Linked DNA regions of Homo sapiens: all the other regions are linked to region 4. Evidence: promoter capture Hi-C in 16 types of primary human blood cells and fetal thymus (Javierre and others, 2016). All regions are on one chromosome and are shown on one strand. Each heading gives the region's core, a stretch centred on a gene start or on the middle of the fragment in contact. The rest is flanking DNA. Distances are from core to core; before and after follow the strand shown.

The links. The method cuts DNA at HindIII sites, captures the fragments that hold promoters and counts their contacts. A CHiCAGO score of 5 or more calls a contact.
Region 1: a contact is called between a fragment that was not itself captured here and the fragment with the promoter of NR2E1 in region 4, in 1 of 17 cell types (megakaryocytes). The highest score is 8.5, in megakaryocytes.
Region 2: the fragment with the promoter of FOXO3 here is called in contact with the fragment with the promoter of NR2E1 in region 4 in 3 of 17 cell types (naive B cells, total B cells and megakaryocytes); the score reaches 11.0 in naive B cells.
Region 3: a fragment that was not itself captured here is called in contact with the fragment with the promoter of NR2E1 in region 4 in 2 of 17 cell types (megakaryocytes and endothelial precursors); the score reaches 9.0 in megakaryocytes.
Region 5: a fragment that was not itself captured here is called in contact with the fragment with the promoter of NR2E1 in region 4 in 3 of 17 cell types (megakaryocytes, endothelial precursors and M1 macrophages); the score reaches 8.8 in megakaryocytes.

What each region holds. Positions count from the first base shown.
Region 1 is chr6:108,532,707-108,535,406 of GRCh38, forward strand. No RefSeq gene overlaps it. Among named protein-coding and RNA genes, the nearest start is that of FOXO3, 27 kb to the right of the region's middle. The HindIII fragment of the contact is 8,447 bases long and covers 1-2,700 here.
Region 2 is chr6:108,559,559-108,562,258 of GRCh38, forward strand. FOXO3 (forkhead box O3) reads left to right here and starts at 1,359. Exons shown (of 3, transcript NM_001455.4): 1 at 1,359-2,271. The coding sequence starts at 1,651. RefSeq lists silencers at 1-83, 124-193, 1,173-1,392 and an enhancer at 1,836-2,336. The HindIII fragment of the contact is 5,662 bases long and covers 1-2,480 here.
Region 3 is chr6:108,516,617-108,519,316 of GRCh38, forward strand. The region is part of intron 11 of AFG1L (AFG1 like ATPase); the gene reads left to right. Among named protein-coding and RNA genes, the nearest start is that of FOXO3, 43 kb to the right of the region's middle. The HindIII fragment of the contact is 3,442 bases long and covers 1-2,700 here.
Region 4 is chr6:108,164,654-108,167,353 of GRCh38, forward strand. It overlaps NR2E1 (nuclear receptor subfamily 2 group E member 1), which reads left to right and starts at 1,369. Exons shown (of 9, transcript NM_003269.5): 1 at 1,369-2,137. The coding sequence starts at 2,113. RefSeq lists enhancers at 412-1,313, 2,214-2,700. The HindIII fragment of the contact is 9,879 bases long and covers 1-2,700 here.
Region 5 is chr6:108,474,768-108,477,467 of GRCh38, forward strand. It overlaps AFG1L (AFG1 like ATPase), which reads left to right. Exons shown (of 13, transcript NM_145315.5): 9 at 2,098-2,168; 10 at 2,425-2,525. All of the region lies in intron 2 of LOC124901370 (a long non-coding RNA gene), which reads right to left. Among named protein-coding and RNA genes, the nearest start is that of FOXO3, 85 kb to the right of the region's middle. The HindIII fragment of the contact is 711 bases long and covers 1,090-1,800 here.

The DNA of each region.
Region 1 (2,700 bases), core at 73-2,572, 370 kb after region 4:
TAGAATTGCTTGAACCCAGGAGGTGGAGGCTGCAGTGAGCCGAGATCATGTCACTGCACTGCAGTCTGGGTGATAGAGTGAGACTCTGGCCAAAAAAAAAAAAAAAAAAAAAGGTGTACAGATATTCACCATTCATTCATTCATTCATTCATCATTTACTTGCTGTCTACTCTGTGCCAGGAGCCGGGCACACTGAGAATAATGAGACAAACTCCCTCACCATGACAGACTTGTAATCTTTTAGGGACAACAGACAGACATAATGTGGTGTCAAGGAAGAGCCTTGCCCAGGTATCCTGGGAAGACCAGGGCACTCAAGTCAGCCAGGAAATGTAGTAAAAGGCATAGAAAGGACTGAGGGACAAACACTGTGCTGGGGAGGAGAGATGCAGAATAACAAAACCCATCCCTAGTCTCCAGGAGATGAAAAGAGTTGAGAGAGCACCAGTGCAGGGCCGAGTGTCATCCATACAACGAGAAATTACAAAGTGCTCTGGCAATTCAGAAGAGGGAGCTATAATGAATGTTATTCTTCTGAATGTTCAGAGAGAAATTAGACATAATTTGGTCCTTCAAGACATAACAATTCCCCTTTAGAACCCCAAATTCAGGGTGCACAGTGTAAAAACTGCTGCTATCATCAAAATGTGTCCCTCATTTTGCACTAATAACCTATCACATTTTAACCAAACTTTGAAAAGGCAGAATATTAAATTCAATTGCTAAAGAAGTATCAGTTGATTTCTATTGATTAGAGCAACATAGTTTGTAGAATTAAAAATAATTGCTTATGCTTTTGTGGTACTGACATAATTAGATTTAACAGCACAAAAATAATGCTCAAGCCATGACAAAGCAACTTTAAGTCTGGGGCAAAATAGACAGCTGATGTATGGATGAGCTAAACTCCCACCTTACCATCACCACTTTGTAGCCCATAGTTACATGTGGGGAATAAGGAAGAGAAGGGGCCAGGTGCAGTGGCTCATGCCTGTAATCCCAGCACTTGGGGAGGCCAAGGCGGGTGGATCACCTGAGCTCAAGAGTCCAGCCTGGGCTTCACGGTCAAACCCTGTCTCTACAAAAAATACAAAAATTAGCCGGGTGTGCTGGTGCACGCCTGTAATCCCAGCTACTCTGGAGGCTGAGGCAGGAGAATTGCTTGAGCCTGGGAGGTGGAAGTTGCAGTGAGCTGAGATGGCACCACTGCACTCCAGCCTGGGTGACAGAGCGAGACTCTTTATCAATGAAAGAAAGGGAGAGAGAGAGAGAGAGAGAGAGAGAGAGAGAGAGAGAGAGGAAGGAAGGGGAAGGGGAAGGGAGAAAGAAAAAGGGAGAGAGAGAGAGAGAGAGAGGAAGGAAGGGGAAGGGGAAGGGAGAAAGAGAAAAAGAAAGAAAAAGGAAAGGAAGGAAGGAAAAGAAAGAGGGAGGAAGGAAGGAAAAGAAAGGATGGAAGGAAAGAAAGAAGAAAGAAAAGAAAAGGAAAGAAAAGAAAAAAGATGAAGAAAGAAAAAAGAGAGAGAGAGAAAGAAAGAGGAAGGAAGAGAGGATTTGCTGTGGTGGTTGGGAGGGGACTCCTTCATGGAGATGGAGAAGGAGCAGGCAGAATATTGGCACTCAGAGCTCTTGTCATAGCATAAGTTAGAGGGCCCCACGGCAACCTGATGACAGCTAAAGGCAGGTCCCTCTTCTTGCTGTGACCCAGGGCACCGTCCTTATTCAGACTGAACTGAATCTGCAGCCTGTGTGTGCTCTCTAGACCCACCTTGACACTTGGTTTGGGGAAGGCTTTCTCCTCCAAGGCTCTGGTTTGTCCCCAGTTTGTGCCACTGAGTTTCAGTCCCCTTCAACTGTGCCTGAAGGCTAGAATTTATGCCCCAGGGGGCAGGGGCCAGGGAGGGTGTCCTCAGCCTGTTCTTTACTTGACAGCCTGCATCTGCCCCTATTTACATCCTCTGCAGTGCTGAACCTGCTTTCTGTGTTCATTCATTCTTTCCAAGCTCCACATGTGGCAGAAGGGTCTGGACTGGGATCAAGAGAGGCCGGCTAGGTTCTCAGCTCCATGATAGGCAAACCCCAGTTAGTATGGAGCTCGGCTTCCTCACTCACCCAGCTTCATTTGGATTCAGACCCGGGTTAAATACCTGCTGTGTGACCTGGTGTGTTAGCCAAAGTTGCTCAACCTTCATCTCCCCATTCGTAAAATGGGGGAAAGAATACCAACCTTGCAGGGTGCTGTGGGCATCAGAGATCATTACTCACAGTGCCCAGCACTGCGCAGACATTCATTAGCCAGCAATTGTTATCTACGATTGTCCTCAAACCCCCTTCCTATTCTGAGAGAGATGCTGGGTCACAGGCTCCCATTCTTCAGGCTGGCATTTCAGTTCCATCTGGAAGATGAGTAGAGGCAGCCCTGAGGAACCTGCTAGGGGCTCAGAGGCACAGATGATGGCCAGATGTCACTCCTCCACTCCTATTCTTGGACCCTGGCCTGGGGTAGCTTGGCCTTCACCTTCCGGCTTCTCTGCGCAGCACTCACGGCCCTTCATGTTTGCACGTGTGCCCTCTGCTCCCTCTGCCTACATGAAGCAGAATGGAGGGTGGACTTTAGGTCTTCCTCCCAGTGCAAACCTTCTCCTGTGAGACAGACTGCAAAGGGCCGAGGATAATCTGTGCTTGGTGACGTGAACTCATTCT
Region 2 (2,700 bases), core at 109-2,608, 390 kb after region 4:
CCCAGCGGGGACAGCAGCGGGAGCCCGCCGAGTCCCGGCCCACGGCGCGCGCCCGGACACCCACGCCCGCAGCCCCGCGGAGCCGGGCCGCGCAGGCGCGCGCGAGCTCACACACGCGCACTCACACACGCACGCCCGCCGCGCGCCCGGCCCGCCGCCCAGCCCGCCGCCCAGCCCTCCCCCTGGGCGGGGACCCGCCCGCCGTCAGCCTAGGTTGAGGCGCCCTGCGTGTGTCTATAACTTTGTGCTGCTGCCGCGGCCGCCCTGCTCGTGGAAGGGAGGAGGAGGAATGTGGAAGGTGGCGGCGCGCGAGCTGACAGGCGGTTCCTCGGGCGGGCTGCGGCGACGGCCCGAGCGCTTCTCCTTCGCCGAGGTTGCGCGCCCCCTCCTCGCCGTGCCCCGGGCCCGCGCGGGATCGTGCGTCGTCCCGCCGCGTCCCTGAAGGGAAGGAAGCGAGGTAGGCGCCGGAGCCGTGCAGCGGGCGGCCGCCTTCCCGGTGACTCCGGATCTGCTTCCGAGCTGGGCCGGGCGCTTCCCTTTCCCCTCCCTGAGCCGCGGTGTGCGCGCCCCCCTTCTCGCCCGCTAGTGTTTTTAAAGGACTCGGGAAGGGGGAAACTGTCAAGATGGCAGCAGCGGGAGCAAGGAGGTGATGAACGTGCTGGTCCGGGTTTTCTAGCAGCCCGGGAGACTTGGCGCTTCCCGACCTGTTGGAAGATTTATGTTCCGACTCGCTCCCTCCCCCGGATCCCGACTGGGAAGGGGGCGGAGGGGACGACGTCCGCGAGAATGCAAACCACACAAAACCCCGAAGTGGCCGTCCCCGCCGGGCTCGAACCTCTGCGAACACCCGCTGGGCTGCTGCTCCCCCTTCTTTCTGTCTTTCCTTTATTTTTTGGAAGTGACAAGGGCCCATCTGCGCCCAGACCCCCGTTCGCCCTCTGGCCCGCGGGCGAAGAGGGGAGAGGGAGCTGCCCGCGCAGTCCCCGGGCTCGGGCCATTCGACCGGGTGGGGGGTGACGGGGGGTCGCGGAGGCGGCCAGGCTAGGAAAGGGGAGAAGAGCCGAAGACAGCACAGACTTGAGCGGCGGCGCCGCGGGAGGCACTAGAGCGGGCCCGAGCGAAACATAAACAAACGCACGCACACCCGAGCTCGGGCTCTGACCGCGGCTCGGCTGCGCCAGCTCCGGCCGCTGCCCGCTTTAAAGGCGCGGCCGCCCCTCCCCCGGGCGCCCCTCCCCCTTCTCCCCGCCCCGCCGCCTAGCCCGGGAGGGACCTGCGGCTGGGCGGCGGGGGGAGGGGGCTGCCCCGCGCGAGGCCGTCGATTCGCTCGCGGCTCCATCGCGGCCTGGCCGGGGGGCGGTGTCTGCTGCGCCAGGTTCGCTGGCCGCACGTCTTCAGGTCCTCCTGTTCCTGGGAGGCGGGCGCGGCAGGACTGGGAGGTGGCGGCAGCGGGCGAGGACTCGCCGAGGACGGGGCTCCGGCCCGGGATAACCAACTCTCCTTCTCTCTTCTTTGGTGCTTCCCCAGGCGGCGGCGGCGGCGCCCGGGAGCCGGAGCCTTCGCGGCGTCCACGTCCCTCCCCCGCTGCACCCCGCCCCGGCGCGAGAGGAGAGCGCGAGAGCCCCAGCCGCGGGCGGGCGGGCGGCGAAGATGGCAGAGGCACCGGCTTCCCCGGCCCCGCTCTCTCCGCTCGAAGTGGAGCTGGACCCGGAGTTCGAGCCCCAGAGCCGTCCGCGATCCTGTACGTGGCCCCTGCAAAGGCCGGAGCTCCAAGCGAGCCCTGCCAAGCCCTCGGGGGAGACGGCCGCCGACTCCATGATCCCCGAGGAGGAGGACGATGAAGACGACGAGGACGGCGGGGGACGGGCCGGCTCGGCCATGGCGATCGGCGGCGGCGGCGGGAGCGGCACGCTGGGCTCCGGGCTGCTCCTTGAGGACTCGGCCCGGGTGCTGGCACCCGGAGGGCAAGACCCCGGGTCTGGGCCAGCCACCGCGGCGGGCGGGCTGAGCGGGGGTACACAGGCGCTGCTGCAGCCTCAGCAACCGCTGCCACCGCCGCAGCCGGGGGCGGCTGGGGGCTCCGGGCAGCCGAGGAAATGTTCGTCGCGGCGGAACGCCTGGGGAAACCTGTCCTACGCGGACCTGATCACCCGCGCCATCGAGAGCTCCCCGGACAAACGGCTCACTCTGTCCCAGATCTACGAGTGGATGGTGCGTTGCGTGCCCTACTTCAAGGATAAGGGCGACAGCAACAGCTCTGCCGGCTGGAAGGTGCGTACCCACCCCGGGCTGGCAGCAGGACCCGCCGGGCCTCCTGCGCAGCGCGAGACGCGTCTCGGATTCGTCGGAGTGCGCTTGCGGGCTCCAGGGCAAGGGGTTGGCAGGGGGAGCCTCCGCTGCGAGGCTTTGGGGGTTATCTTTGATCCCCGGAGTCGGGGCACCTGGGGACGGTCTCGGAGGGGTGAATGAGGCTCCCCAGAAGCTTGGGGCATGGCCAGGTGAGGAGAGGGGGCAGGGGACGCCGGCGAGGGAAGGGCGAACGGACAGGAGTACATTTGCTGGATTCTCCGGACAGCACCGAGGAGGTAGGTCCGCAGCCAACTTTGGAGTAGAGTTTACCGTAGTGGGGGTCTGGTGCGGGCGCTGTGGCTGGAGTGAGAGGTGTGGGGGTGTTTGGGACGCAGTGTCTGGAGGAGGGGT
Region 3 (2,700 bases), core at 146-2,645, 350 kb after region 4:
CTCCTATTCAACATAGTGTTGGAAGTTCTGGCCAGGGCAATCGGGCAGGAGACAGAAATAAAGGGTATTCAATTCGGAAAAGAGGAAGTCAAATTGTCCCTGTTTGCAGATGACATGATTGTATATCTAGAAAACCCCATCGTCTCAGCCCAAAATCTCCTTAAGCCGATAAGCAACTTCAGCAAAGTCTCAGGATACAAAATCAATGTGCAAAAATGACAAGCATTCTTATACACCAATAACAGAGAAACAGAGAGCCAAATCATGAGTGAACTCCCATTCACAATTGCTTCAAAGAGAAAAAAATACCTAGGAATCCAACTTACAAGGGATGTGAAGGACCTCTTCAAGGAGAGCTACAAACCACTGCTCAATGAAATAAAAGAGGATACAAACAAATGGAAGAACATTCCATGCTCATGGGTAGGAAGAATCAATATCGTGAAAATGGCCATACTGCCCAAGGTAATTTATAAATTCAATGCCATCCCCATCAAGCTACCAATGATTTTCTTCACAGAATTGGCAAAAACTACTTTAAAGTTCATATGGAACCAAAAAAGAGCCCGCATTGCCAAGACAATCCTAAGCCAAAAGAACAAAGCTGGAGGCATCACACTACCTGACTTCAAACTATACTACAAGGCTGCAGTAACCAAAACAGCATGTTACTGGTACCAAAACAGAGATATAGACCAATGGAACAGAACAGAGCCCTCAGAAGTAATGCCACATATCTACAACTATGTGATCTTTGACAAACCTGACAAAAACAAGAAATGGGGAAAGGATTCCCTATTTAATAAATGGTGCTGGGAAAACTGGCTAGCCATATGTAGAAAGCTGAAACTGTATCCTTTCCTTACACCTTATGCAAAAATTAATTCAAGATGGATTAAAGACTTAAATGTCAGACCTAAAACCATAAAAACCTTAGAAGAAAACCTAGGCAATACCATTCAGGACATAGGCATGGGCAAGGACTTCATGTCTAAAACACCAAAAGCAATGGCAACAAAAGCCAAAATTGACAAATGGGATCTAATTAAACTGAAGAGCTTCTGCCCAGCAAAAGAAACTACCATCAGAGTGAACAGGCAGCCTACAGAATGGGAGAAAAATTTTGCAATCTACTCATCTGACAAAGGGCTAATATCCAGAATCTACAATGAACTCAAACAAATTTACAAGAAAAAAAACAACAAACCCATCAAAAAGTGGGTGAAGGATATGAACAGACACTTCTCAAAAGAAGACATTTATTCAGCCAAAAGACACATGGAAAAATGCTCATCATCACTGGCCATCAGAGAAATGCAAATCAAAACCACAATGAGATACCATCTCACACCAGTTAGAATGGCAGTCATTAAAAAGTCAGGAAACAACAGGTGCTAGAGAGGATGTGGAGAAATAGGAACACTTTACACTGTTGGTGGGACTGTAAACTAGTTCAACCATTGTGGAAGTCAGTGTGGCAATTCCTCAGGGATCTAGAACTAGAAATACCATTTGACCCAGGCATCCCATTACTGGGTATACACCCAAAGGATGATAAATCATGCTGCTATAAAGACACATGCACACGTATGTTTATTGTGGCACTATTCACAATAGCAAAGACTTGGAACCAACCCAAATGTCCAACAATGATAGACTGGATTAAGAAAATGTGGCACATGTACACCATGGAATACTATGCAGCCATAAAAAATGAGTTCATGTCCTTTGTAGGGACATGGATGAAGCTGGAAACCATCATTCTCAGCAAACTATGGCAAGGACAAAAAACCAAACACCGCATGTTCTCACTCATAGGTGGAAATTGAACAATGAGAACACATGGACACATGAAGGGGAACTTCACACACCGGGGCTTGTTGTGGGGTGGGGGGAGGGGGGAGGGATAGCATTAGGAGATATACCTAATGTTAAATGATGAGTTAATGGGTGCAGCACACTAACATGGCACATGTATACATATGTAACAAACCTGCACGTTGTGCACATGTACCCTAAAACTTAAAGTATAATAATAAAAAAAAGAATATGTTTTGTATTTAAACTAGTGGATATAAAAAATATAAAAGCTGTTTCCAATATATGATCACATATGAACACTCATTCAAATACTTATGTAATCAAGAGATATTAATGTAAATCTTAGTCTTTTTGAAGAATGTCCTAGCAGGATGCTAAGATAATAAATGTAGGTTCTGGACACTCACTGGCCTAATTAGAATAGCAATGCACTGAACTTAGCAGTCTGCTGTGCAGCAAAAGCGTAACTAACCTCTTTACAGTGTCCCTGGGGAGCGTCTTAGGTGCACAGACCAGCTCCAAACAGCCAGGTATAAATGTCAACATCACAGTGTAATCATCTTAGTCAGTATGTGGTGCTATAACAAAATACCATGGTCTGGGTAATTTATAAATAATAGGAATTTATTTCTTCCAGTTCTGTGAGGTCTGAGATCAAGGAGCCAGCAGGTTTGGGTGTTTGGTGAGGGCTACTATCTGCTTTGTTGCCACCAGAGGGCACAAATGTTGTTCTCGCATGGTGGAAGGAATGGAAGGCAAAAAGTGGTGAACTCCCTCCATCAAATCCTGTATAAAGGCACCGAATCCCATGCATGAAGGCAGAGCCTCATGACTCAATCATATCCTAGAGGCCACACCTCTTAATCCTGTTGCATTGTG
Region 4 (2,700 bases), core at 119-2,618:
AGAGATAAAGATCCCCCCATCTTGCTCTTTCCCCGGGACCCCAGCCTTGGTCGCGGCGCCCCACTAAGGAGGACACAGGCTCTGGTGTGTGTGGTGTGCGAGACCCCGAGCTCGAGGCCGAGCCAAGGCTGGGCAGAAAGTTGCAATCACGTGCTGTCGGAGCCCACTGGAGCGCACAGCCCGCTCCCCCTGGGACGCCCAGGCGGAGGACCTGCTGCGCCCTCCCAGGGCTCGGGGGACTCCAGCATTCACTTGCACGCACAGGCGAACTCTGATTGAAAGCCCGGGATGACACCGAGTCTGGAGAAAGAGGGACCGGGGGGTGGGCTGGCGGAATTGCAGAGCGCCGGCCACAGCTCCCCTCCCCGCGAACGTCGAGCGGAGGGCGGGAGGTGTAACCTCTGACCTCTGGCCGGGTCCACGCCCTGAGGAGGGACTGGCAAGCTCTTGTTCGACAAGTTCAAGCTGCCGAGAGAGCTTAAATAGAATTAATCTCTTAGAGATCGGGGATCATCGCTCCCTCGGCATGCGCTCTCCCAGCGCCGCGCACAGAGCAAGGCGCGAGAGAGCTCAGGAATCGCGGGAAGGCAAGCGGAATGGGGAGGGGGTAGGGGATGAGGGCCTCTCTTCACTATTCCTCCGCCCGGAGAGCGGGAGCCCGCAACGCCCGCCGAGGACGAGCGGCGGGAGGGAACGCTCTGCCCTCCAGCCGCCCCGGTGCAGATAATGGAGGCGACAAGAGATTCGCTCAGCGTCGGATGGGCCAGCTCTGCTTGGGGAAGCTGGCGGCATCCTCCCCTCGGCTGGTGCCCAAACCCACTGCGCGAAGGCCGAAGGAACGCGGAACCTCCAGAAGACCCCATCCTCAGCCCTGACTTTCCGTAGATATGTGCAAAATGAGTAAATTACTCACCTCGGGCCAGATCCAAGTTTTACCCAACAGAAGGGGCACCGGACCAAGAATGAACCAACTCACATGGCCATGTCCGGCGCGCACAATCACACGCCAGCACACAGCCACCCAATTTCTTCCGCGAATCTATCTGGCACTCTGGAGAGAGGGGGAAAAGCGTTTTGAGAAAGCCCCGTCACCCCTCCCCTTCCTTCTTGCCGTGAAATATACGAATTCATTTTTATTACGAGCCGCACCGTCCTCACCATCACGCACGCACAGAGCCACACTCCCATATTCACACTTTCTAACTCGTAAGCTCCGACAGCGCCTGCATTTTCTTTGGGAGCCGCTTGGAGGTTCATTAATATCATTAGCATTTAACCCCCTCCCTCTTCCCATCCCCTCCCCGCACATGGCTGACGTCAGACCCCGCCAGGAGTTGGGGGAAAAGCTAAGTGGGCCAGGGACGCCCTATTCCCCTCCCCGCGGCTGCCTGTCAGAGCGCTTCTGGAGATATTACAGGGGACCCAGCCCGCAGCGACAGGCACAAAGTCACGGGGTAATGAACTTCGGGGACCCTTCGCCGCTGCGTGCGCGGCTCTCCCCGGAAACCCGGACCTGGCCGCCTCTTCCCTCGGAAGATTTCCCAGCAATCTAGTTTTCCCACTCTGCGCTTGGGTTCCGGCAGCGCGGAGCCCGTCTGCCTCTGAGACTGCGGTAGTGTTTTCCTTCTTTCCTTGGGAGACCAGCGGTCGGCAGAGATTGCCCACACTCTGCATGCCTATGTAGAGGGAGAGATCGAAGACTGAGTGACAGGAATGGGGAAAAAGAGGGATTTCGCTCCGTAGGAAGGCCATTTTCGTGTCTCCATCTCTGTCTTTCAACATCCCTCTCTTGCTGTTCTTCCTTCTTCCTCAGTCTTCCTGTCCATCTCTCCATCTGTCTGTCCATGTGTGTGTCCATATCAAGCAGCATTCCCAGCAGCTGCGGTTTTGCAAGAGCCGGGAAGAAACTTAAGGATGCTTAAATTTCCACTGTTGGACGAATTCTGAGCGCCCAGGGAGCAGCGCAGCGCGCGACTGACACCCACCTGTCCCGCCCAGGAGCCTTGCAGGCTGGAGGGCAGCTGGAGAGCGGCGGCGCCCGGCGGCGAGGCGGGCGCTGCCGGCCGGGACTCGGGCAGCGCCCACCAACCGCTCCGCCCCGGGACAGCCAGCATGAGCAAGCCAGCCGGATCAACAAGTGGGTACCTCTCGGGCCGCCGTGGGGCCTAGGCGCGCAGCCTGGGGCGAGCGAGCGGGGAGGCTGGGGGAGGTCCTGCCTGGAGCGCTGCGAATCTGAGCCCCTGAGAGGGATTCCAGCGGGCGTGTGCGTTCGGCCCAGACCTGTAGACCGTGAGTTGGAGCATTTCGTGGAGAGGGGAGAGCCGTTTCGTTGCCTCTGGATTGCTTGATCCCCCCTGTCTGGTGCGGTGAGAAGGTTACGACCCGCGCAGCCCACCAGTCGGATGAGTTGTCTCCATTTAGCCGCCAGGTGCTGGATGGGGGGGCCATGGGGGCGGGAACTGGGCCGCAGCTCCAGGCGGTAGCACAATAACACACTCGCTCAAAACTCCGAGCTCCAGCGCGCAAAAGCAACTCTGTGCAAAGCGGATTTTGAATGGAATGCTTTGCACCCCGTTTCTAGCTATTTCAAATAATCCTGCAAACTGGGAAGCAGAAACAATTTAAAAGTCACATTTTCCTTAATCCTAAATCCGCGTAGGTCATAACTGGGGAATTTAAAGTATGGCGAACCACTCTAGC
Region 5 (2,700 bases), core at 195-2,694, 310 kb after region 4:
CCTTGTAGATTCTGGATATTAAACCTTTGTCAGATGGGTAGATTACAAAACTTTCTCCTATTCTGTAGGTTGTTTCTTCGCTCTGATGATAGTTTCTTTTGCTGTGCAGAAGCTCTTTAGTTTAATTAGATCCCATTTGTCAATTTTTGCCTTCATTGCAATTGCTTTTGGTGATTTCATCATAAAATCTTTGCCCATGCCTATGTCCTGAATGATATTGCCTAGATTTTCTTCTAGGGTTTTTATGGTTTTGGGTTTTACATTTAAGCCTTTAATCCATCTTGAGTTAATTTTTATATAAGGCATAAGGAAGGGGTCCAGTTTTGGTTTTCTGCATATGGCTAGCCAGTTTTCCCAGCACCATTTATTAAACAGGAAATCCTTTCCCCATTGCTTGTTTTTGTCAGGTTTCTTAAAGATCAGATGGTTGTAGATGTGTGGTCTTATTTCTGAGATCTCTGTTCTGTTCCATTGGTCTATGTGTCTGTATTGGTACCAGTACCAGGCTGTTTTGGTTACTGTAGCCTTGCAGTATAGTTTGAAGTTTGCTAGCGTGATGCCTCCAGCTTTGTTCTTTTTGCTTAAGATTGTCTTGGCTATATGGGCTCAAAAGTAGCTTACTTTTAAGCTCTTTTTTTTCTTTTTTTGCTTGTATACACCAAAGGTGGTGTTGGTTCCAAATGAATTCTCAAGAATAATGTCTAAACAGACATGTGCTTGGCATGACCATTGACATTTACATTGGTTTGTGTGATTTCTTTTTCCTTTAAGATTGTTTCTGTCTCTAAAATTACTTTCTATAGTGTCATTTCATTATTTTAATACCACTCTATTTGAATATGACACTAGACCTCATGGAAGTCAAATAGCATTTCTCCTGCAAAGTTGACCATTGCAAATGATGTTTTTAATGTCCTTTGAGGTGGAGTGGTTATTACTTGGAATGTGACAATTTCAAACTTTTCATAATAACTATATGCTTTGTTGCATTTTAAAGACATTTGCTCTAGAACAGTTGAAGAATTGGGTGCTTGTGTATTAAATGCCTACCACCTGATAATTATCTCAAGGGAGAATTTGTTTAGTTTAAGCTTAATCTAAATAAAAGATAACCTGTCACACTAATTTTCAATAAGACTTTAGTAAGATGGATGTCCAGAATTTAGTTTAATTGCTTCCACTACTACGTAAGAGTGATCTGTGTGTCAAAATTAAGCATATTGGCAGGTCAACCTGTAAAAGTTTGTATGTGGAGTTGAAGTAAACTTACATTTTTACTTGAAGCTCTTTTTAACAGTTTATTTCTTCTGCCAGTTATTTTATTGACTGTTAATTTACCACCCCTCTTAAAAAAAAAAGGCGAGAGGAAAAAGGCCATAGCATCATCTCATTTATATATGAGTTCCCTAAACCATATGGTGATTTCTAATTAGAATACAAAAGATTCTGTGATGAGACTAACTTCATAGTAGCTGTAACAGTGGGCATCACAGAAGGAGAGAGTTTTCTTCAATTTCCAACAAGGAGACTTTTGAGAGAAACTGTGTGGTCTATAATTGTCCTTATACTAGAAGTCTGACAAAGTTATTGATGTGCAGATCAAGTTGGCATTTCGAAGGTAGTAATTTAATTCTGGAGGTTTGATCCTCTCAGTCAGTGGCTTGACTTGATTTTTTTAAAATGCAGCTTCAATATTTAATTTCACATGTACCCTCTCAGTAGAGATTTCAAAGGATACTTTGCTGGATGCTTGACTGCCTTGTCTATTTGCTCTTGTTTTGCATGCAAGAGAGAGCCAGAAGCTTTCTTCTCATTGTGTACACATGGTATTAATGGATTTACTCTGCCTGTATCGTCTCATTACTGGAAACAGCTAGAAGCACAGAAGTCTTTCAGTGTATGCAAATAAGGCAGAATCATCTACCTGAGAGTTAATATTCTCTGCTTTTAAGTGTATTCTAAATCTAATGTTTGTATTTAGAGCATAACATCCTGTTCTTTTTTTTTATGGGCAAAAAGCTAAGCAGTCTCAGGCAGCTGTTTGATGTTGGCTTCAAGTGTTATTAATTTCATATTCTATTATTCTTTTCACTGTAGCACAAGTGAAGCTGATGTGGAGGCTGTCATGGATAAGTTGTTTGATGAGCTGGCTCAGAAACAAAATGATTGTACGTAAGTTAATTTCTCTTGAAAGAGAATACATTTAGAACACAATGCCCAATCTCCACTGACCAATTAATAAGTTCCATTGCTGTATATGGGTTGATGCCACGCTCAAGTGGCAGTCATTGTATCAGCATTTTGTCTAATTTATGTGTTGAATCATGTGCTATTATTCATCAAGCTATGCATTTCCTATCTGTAAGAGATGAATTTTATAGTAATTATCCAGACAAGATTGAGTCTTTGTTCATGTTCCCATAGTAACTAGACCAAGGATTCTAAAAGTGCAAGGCAGAGAGCTGCGCCTGAATAAAGCCTGTGGAACCGTTGCCGACTGCACATTTGAAGAGCTGTGTGAGAGAGTAAGTATCCAGGCACGTCCAGACTCACTGGCCTTTTCACATGTTAAAATACTTCGTGTTTTCCTCTCTGCCCATTTCAGATTTTAAAATACCATTCACAGAGTCAGAATCGATTTAAAAGTCTCATTAAGGGAAATACTCATCTATTTTTGCCATGTGCTTTTTATAGATATTG